Regions from separate parts of the Homo sapiens genome. Here region 2 is linked to region 1. The links are contacts of gene promoters, found by promoter capture Hi-C in human tissues and cell types (Jung and others, 2019). All regions are on one chromosome and are shown on one strand. The core of a region is centred on a gene start or on the middle of the fragment in contact, and the rest is flanking DNA. Distances in the headings are between cores, read along the strand shown. Region 1 holds the start of UBA7 (ubiquitin like modifier activating enzyme 7). Region 2 overlaps CAMKV (CaM kinase like vesicle associated).

Region 1 (3,572 bases), core at 688-3,187:
GGAGGATCACTTGAGGCCAGGCATTCGAGACCAGCCTGGGCAAGATAGCAATACCCACCCCCAATCTCTACAAAAGCAAGTAATTAATTAGGAAATTAGCCAAAGCCAGGTGCGGTGGCTCACGCCTGTAGTCCCAGCACTTTGGGAGGCTGAGGTGGGCAGATTGCTTGAGTCCAGAGATTCGAGACCAGCCTAGGCAACATATCAAAACCCCGTCTCTACTAAAAGTAAAAAAAGAAAAATTGCACTCTGGGAGGCCAAGGCGGGGGGATCACCTGATGTCAGGAGTTCAAGACCAGCCTGGCCAACATGGTGAAACCCCATCTCTACAAAAATACAAAAGTTAGCCGGGCATGATGGCAGTGTCTGTAATCCCAGCTACTCAGGAGGCTGGGTCGGAAGAATCATTTGAATCCAGGAGGCGGAGGTTGCAGTGAACCAAGATTGTGCCATTGCATTCCAGCCTGGGTGACAGAGCAAGCCTCCGTCTCAAAAAAAAAAAAAAAAGAAAAATTAGCCAGATGTGGTGGTGCATGCCTGTGGTCCCAGCTACTCAGGAGGCTGTGGTGGGAGGATTGCTTGAGCCCAAGACACTGAGGCTGCAGTGAGCCATGATCACACCACTGCACTCCAGCCTAGGCAACCAGAGTGAGACCCTGTCTCAAAAACAAACAAACAAACAAAAACCACTTTAACAGGGTATGGTGGTGCACACCTCTAGTCCCAGCTACTTGGGAGGTTGAGGCAGCCGGATCACTTGACCCCAGGAGATCGAGGCTGCAGTGAGCTGTGATTGTGCCACTGCAGTCCAGCCTGGGCAACCGAGTGAGACTGTCTCAAAAAGAAAAAAAAAAAAAAAAGGACATAGCAGCACTATTCACAAATCCAAAAGTTAGAAATAACCCAGATGTCCATCAACAGATGAATGGATAAACGAATTGTGGTATATACATATAATGGACTATTATTCAGCCATTAAAAGGAATGAAATATTGATACAGGCTATAAACTCTATGAACATTGAAAACATTCTAAGTGAAAGGAAATAGACATAAGAGGTCACATTTTGCAATTCTTTTTTTTTTTTTTTTTTTTTTTGAGACTGAGTCTCACTCTGTTGCCCAGGCTGGAGCGCAGTGGCTCGATCTCAGCTCACTGCAACCTCCATCTCCCGAATTCAAGCAATTCTTCTGCCTCAGCCTCCCGAGTAGCTGGGATTACATGTAGGCATGCACCACCATGCCTGGCTAATTTTTGTACTTTTAGTAGAGATGGGGTTTCACCATGTTGGTCAGGCTGGTCTTGAACTCCAGACCTCAGGTGGTCCACCCGCCTTGGCCTCCCAAAGTGCTAGGATTACAGGTGTGAGCCACCATGCCCGGCCACATGTATGGTAATTATTGAATGTGTTTGGTATGTTCGTTGTGGGTGATGAAATATTTTGGAACTAGATAGACGTGATGGTTGAACAACACTGTGGATGCACTAAATGCCACTGAATTGTACACTTTAAAATTGTTAACTTTATGTTACATGAATTTCACCTAAATTAACAACAACAACAAAAAAGAACTTAAGACAGCACTTGGTTTGGCTATTACGTAGTTTCGTGACAAACAGTGGTCCATCTCCCAGAGAACTGGCCCCAGGTTCCTAAGAAGGCAAAAGGAGACACAGGACCTCTCTGCACTATTTTTTTTGCAACTTCTTATGAGTCTATAATTATTTCAAAATAAAAGTCTAAAAGGAAAATAAGAACATGTGTGAATGTGGCTGCCCCATGCCTCCCACCCTCAGGTCTGACACTCAGAGACTGATCACCTCTTGAGAGTCCTGGAACTCATCCCAGGTTTTAGACCCTGAATGGCCTGTCTGGGGCTGGCGTCTGGAGGCAGGATCAGGAGCCAGCTCAGAGCATAGTTTAACTTTCACTTTTCTTTTCTCCAGGAAGAGAGCTGTGACCAGCAGCGTCCCTTATTCGCTTGGCCTTGGTTCCTGTTTGCACTGGCTACAGCAGGGCACTGGCCCCTACTGTCACCGCCACCTACACAAAGACCCTATCTCTGAGCGCTGCAGCCTACTGTTCAGCCCCAGGTTTGAGGATGGATGCCCTGGACGCTTCGAAGCTACTGGATGAGGAGCTGTATTCAAGACAGCTGTGAGGCCCGAGGTGGGGGGTGGAGAGTGGGATGGTCTTCAGACCTTGATCTACAACTGCTTGCCTTCTGCTTCCCATCCACAGGTATGTGCTGGGCTCACCTGCCATGCAGAGGATTCAGGGAGCCAGGGTCCTGGTGTCAGGCCTGCAGGGCCTGGGGGCCGAGGTGGCCAAGAACTTGGTTCTGATGGGTGTGGGCAGCCTCACTCTGCATGATCCCCACCCCACCTGCTGGTCCGACCTGGCTGCCCAGGTAAGTGTCCTGGGGGGCTATGGGCTGCCAGACCAAGGTGGGGGCACGGCCCAAGAGGAGTGTCTTTGCTCAGGCTGCACTGGCTCTCTCCCTAGTTTCTCCTCTCAGAGCAGGACTTGGAAAGGAGCAGAGCCGAGGCCTCTCAAGAGCTCTTGGCTCAGCTCAACAGAGCTGTCCAGGTCGTCGTGCACACGGGTGACATCACTGAGGACCTGCTGTTGGACTTCCAGGTCAGCTCAGGCCTGCAGCCCTCAAGAGCAGGAAGGGCTGGGCAATGGTTTTGGCCCTGCTGATCACTGTGTCCACCCAGGTGGTGGTGCTGACTGCTGCAAAGCTGGAGGAGCAGCTGAAGGTGGGCACCTTGTGTCATAAGCATGGAGTTTGCTTTCTGGCGGCTGACACCCGGGGCCTCGTGGGGTGAGTAAGACTGCCTGCCCAGCCTACCATATTACAGCCAGCAACTGGCCTCATGCTGTCCTCAGCTCCAGGCTTGCTCCAGTGCCCCTCCAACCAGCCTCAGGTCTATCCCAGCATGCCTTTCTGATTCTGGTCCCCAGTCCTGCCCTCTGGTTCCTCCAACCTAGCCTCCAGACCTGCTCCAGTAACCCTCTCAAATTCTAGTTCCCAAGCCTCTCCTTGCATTCCTTTCCCAATTCTGGCCCTCTGGCCCTGCCCTAGTATCCCCTATCCTTAAGTACAATCTGTAAGCCACCTCAGTGACCCCTACCACCCCATCTCAGGCAGTTGTTCTGTGACTTTGGTGAGGACTTCACTGTGCAGGACCCCACAGAGGCAGAACCCCTGACAGCTGCCATCCAGCACATCTCCCAGGTGGGTGCTGAGCTGTAGGCATTCACCTGCTGACCAAGGAGAGGCTGCCAGGGCCTGTGGAAGGCAGGTCCAGGCAACCCTGAGCCAAGCCTCCTCCTACCCAGGGCTCCCCTGGCATTCTCACTCTGAGGAAAGGGGCCAATACCCACTACTTCCGTGATGGAGACTTGGTGACTTTCTCGGGAATTGAGGGAATGGTTGAGCTCAACGACTGTGATCCCCGGTCTATCCACGTGCGGGGTAAGCCAATCCCATTCCAATTCCAGGTGCAGGGCCCAAGCCTCCACTGGAAGTGAGCACAGCCTGGCCCTTGGGATGGGTTTTTCTCCC
Region 2 (3,572 bases), core at 793-3,292, 50 kb before region 1:
ATGCATATGCAGAGCCGAAAGCTGGGGCCAGGATCAAGGACAGGCATGCACAAAACCTCCCACCCACGCCACACTGGCAAAGCTGGGAGCTGTTGGAGTGGGGTGGGGGGTGGGGCATGGAGGTTGTGGAAGGTATCTCAGAAAAGGGCCATTTTGAGTCTGGCCTTCGAGCATCAGGATTGTTTTGGACAATGTGTTGCACAAACCACCTTATAATGTCAGAAATCACAATGAAAGAAGAGATTCAGTTCTGCTCTCAGCACCTCGCTCATGTGGCAGCTGCTCCACAGGAAAGCCAAGGTGGGCAGAGCTCTTGCCAGTGCCCACACTTCCTACCATTGAGTGGACACAGTTGAGCTGGCGAGTCACCTGTTGTTGGACATTTAGGTAGTTGCTGAATTTTTTTTAATGTTATAAATAACTCTGCCGTGACAAATAGGAATCTGACGGGAGGCTTTTGGGGGAAGGGCACTCTTGCCAGAGGGAATGGTGTAAGCAAAGCAACAGAGCCAGGGCACAGGTCCCTCCCAGCCTTCTTGGGAGACTGCAGGCTAAGGTACCATCCTCCTGCCCAGTACACGGCCCTCAGACTGAGATGACTGTTGCAGGCCCCCTCCTGCAGCTGTTATGGTGTGAAAATGTGTAGCCGGCAATGGTAACTGGCTATGCCTCTGCTCTCAGCTGTGAGGATGGGATTCTGGCCACATGCTTCTCCCCAGTGGAGGAGTGCAGGGTTGTGCCCATGGTGGCAGACATGCAGTCAGTGACGATCTTCAAAGCCTCTCCTTTGTCTCTGCTGTGCCTCGCAAGATGGCTTAAACCCTGTCTGGAATAATGCTGATGAAATGCATTTGTATTCCCTGAGCCCAAGCAACCCAGATGAAGGAATGATAGAGTTTGTTCCCTAATGCTGAAGGCAAATCTGAGGGAGAATTTCCAGGGCTGTGACTCCTGGGAATCACAGCCTGGTGGCTGGCTTCTGCCTGGGAGGAAGCAAGTAGCAGCCAGGGTTGGCTATGGGGCTCGTTTGGGTCCTGGTCTTTGACTTTGGCTGGCAGAGTTCATCTTGCCAAGCTGCCTCCTTTGCCTCCTCCCTTCTCCACTACCTTGAGGCTGTGAGTGCCTTCAGGTCGGGGAGCATCTAGGTACCCCCAGGCCCTAGCTCAGGCCCTGCACACAGCAAGTGCTAATTGGCATGGAGGGAAAACATGCACAGTCAGCAGAGGCAGAGCAATTTCAGCGCAGCCTCAGTGCAGAGCTTGCTGTAGCCCCAGTGTCACACTGACCGGGTATTATGGAGGCACACCCTGGCGTCAGATCTGTGAAGGTCTAGTCAGTAACCCCCCACCCCCAGCTTTGAGCATGGGCTATGAGTGCCTTTTCCTTTGGACACTGGAGTCAGCCCCCCTAGCACTACAGATGAGGATTGGGCTGTAATTGGCAGGATTGCAGACCTGTGGGACACCGTGCCCCAGGTGGAAAGAGTGCCTAGCGCTCACTGAGCCAGCTATATCTGTTCTGTTTGGGGGCCTTGCACCTGGACCTGACAGCCCAGGTCCCCTGTGGGCCCCAGTGGGCATGAATGCATATGCAGAGCCGAAAGCTGGGACCAGGATCAGGCTTGTTTTGCTCTTCCTGACCAGTACACCTGCATACCTCCTGGCAAATCTTTTCCTACTGAGTCCTAATGCTGCCTCCAAAGCTTTACCTTGCCTCTCCACCCAGATTATCCCTCTGAGGAATCCCCCAAGCACTGTGCCTGAGTGCAGTATTTACTAAATTCATCGAAGTCATTATAGTAAAATAGTAAAAATTCGCACAGAAAATTAGTAAACAAAAGATATGTCTGCCTTTTTGACATCCAATTCTTTGCCCAGGAGAGAACTCTTATTTCCTTCAGTATTCTTCCAGAAAAGAGTTTGTGAGGGTACATCAGTATGTAAACTTTAAAAAATTTACCCAAGCCAGGTATGGTGGCTCATGCCTGTAATCCCAGCACTTTGGGAAGCTGAGGTGGGAGGATCACTTGAGCCCAGGAGTTCAAGAACAGCCTGGGCAACGTAATGAAATCCTGTATCTACAAAAAAATTTTTAAAAATTAGCCAGTTGTGGTGGTGTGCACCTATGGTCCAGTCCTAGCTACTCAGGAGGCTGAGGTGGGAGGATCGCTTGAGCCCAGGAGGTTGAGGCTGGAATGAGCTGTGATCATTCCACTGCATTCCAGCCTGGGTGCCACTGCATTCCAGCCTGGGTGACAGAACAGCTGGGCATGGTGCGGGTGCCTGTAATCCCAGCTGCGGTGGGAGGATCGTTTGAGTTCAGGAGCTCTGGGCTGCAGTGCGCTATGCCAGTTGGGTGTCTACACTAAGTTTGGCATTAGTATGGTGACTTCCTGGGAGCTAGAGCTCATCAGGTTGCCTAAAGGAGGGGTGAAGCAACCAAGGTCAGAGACGAAGCAGGTCAAAACTCCTGTGCTGATCAGTAGTGGGCTTGTGCCCATGAATAGCCACTGCACTCCAGCCTGGGCAACATAGTGAGACTTGTCTCTAAAAAAAGAAAGAAAGAAAGAAAAGAAAAGAAAAGAAATAGGTCTTCCAGAATCCCCCCATGTGTCCTGAATCAATCATAACCCCTCCTTTTCTCTTAGAAGGGACCATTATCTGACTCTGCTTATTTCCTAGCTTTTCTTTATAGCTCTACTGCTGTGTTTGTATCCCCCTTACGGGTTTGTTCTGCCTGTTTGAACTCTATCAATAGACTCATACTATATGTATTCTTTTGTGTCTTTTTGCACTTAACACTGTGTAAGAGTCACCAGGTGGTTGGGTATAGCTGTAGCTCCTTTGTTTCCATTGCTATATAATATTCCATTGTGTGACTCTACCACAATACATCCTGTTGGTGGTGGTATTTGGTCTGTTTTCAATTTTTGGCGATTATGTATATGGCTACTATGAGCATTGTATGACTGTCCTGATGCACGAATATGTGCACTTCTGTAGGCACGTATTTAGGAGTGCAATTGCTGGTTCATAGGGTATGTTTGTTTGACTTTAGTGGTTTTACCAAACTGCTTTACAAAGGGGAGTTTGCCCTCTCCTAGCAGTGCTCACGTTCTTCATATATCCACTAACACTTGTTAGCTCTAGACCTTCAGAGATGACTAGCAGGTGGGTGGGTGGTTATAGCCCCCTTCATCTGTAAAATAGCTGAAATTTAAATAAACTGTTTGATAAGCCTTTTTTTTGAATGTATAGAATACAAAACTATTCCCTTATATATCAGCTTAATACATTTTTTCATATGTAGGCTGTTGCACTTCAGGCAGCCAAGCTGAGTAGCTGGATGTCTAGCCAGAAAAGCAGGGGTAGGATCTAAGCCTGCCTATCCTCTAGCCCCTCCTGGTATGGTCTCTGCCCCTAGCTTGGCCTGAGCCAGGTTGGGGTCTCCCAAAAGCAGCCCCTATGTTGTGGGGAAGTGGAGAGTAGTACAGCTAAGCCAGACCCCATTGTGCCCGCAGGTTAGAGCCTGGCAATGCCGTTTGGGTGTGTGACTCTGGGCGACAAGAAGAA

Evidence for each region. The method cuts DNA at HindIII sites, captures the fragments that hold promoters and counts their contacts. A contact is called where the count stands out against the background at its distance.
Region 2: a contact is called between a fragment that was not itself captured here and the fragment with the promoter of UBA7 in region 1, in 1 of the 25 tissues and cell types used here (pancreas).

Annotation. Positions count from the first base shown.
Region 1 is chr3:49,812,318-49,815,889 of GRCh38, reverse strand. UBA7 (ubiquitin like modifier activating enzyme 7) reads left to right here and starts at 1,937. Exons shown (of 24, transcript NM_003335.3): 1 at 1,937-2,158; 2 at 2,243-2,411; 3 at 2,507-2,641; 4 at 2,722-2,828; 5 at 3,152-3,242; 6 at 3,347-3,482. The coding sequence starts at 2,103. RefSeq lists an enhancer at 1,814-2,203. The HindIII fragment of the contact is 21,739 bases long and covers 1-3,572 here.
Region 2 is chr3:49,862,351-49,865,922 of GRCh38, reverse strand. CAMKV (CaM kinase like vesicle associated) reads left to right here. Exons shown (of 11, transcript NM_024046.5): 2 at 3,521-3,572. The coding sequence starts at 3,535. It also overlaps the pseudogene RN7SL217P. Among named protein-coding and RNA genes, the nearest start is that of CAMKV, 5.8 kb to the left of the region's middle. The HindIII fragment of the contact is 9,007 bases long and covers 1-3,572 here.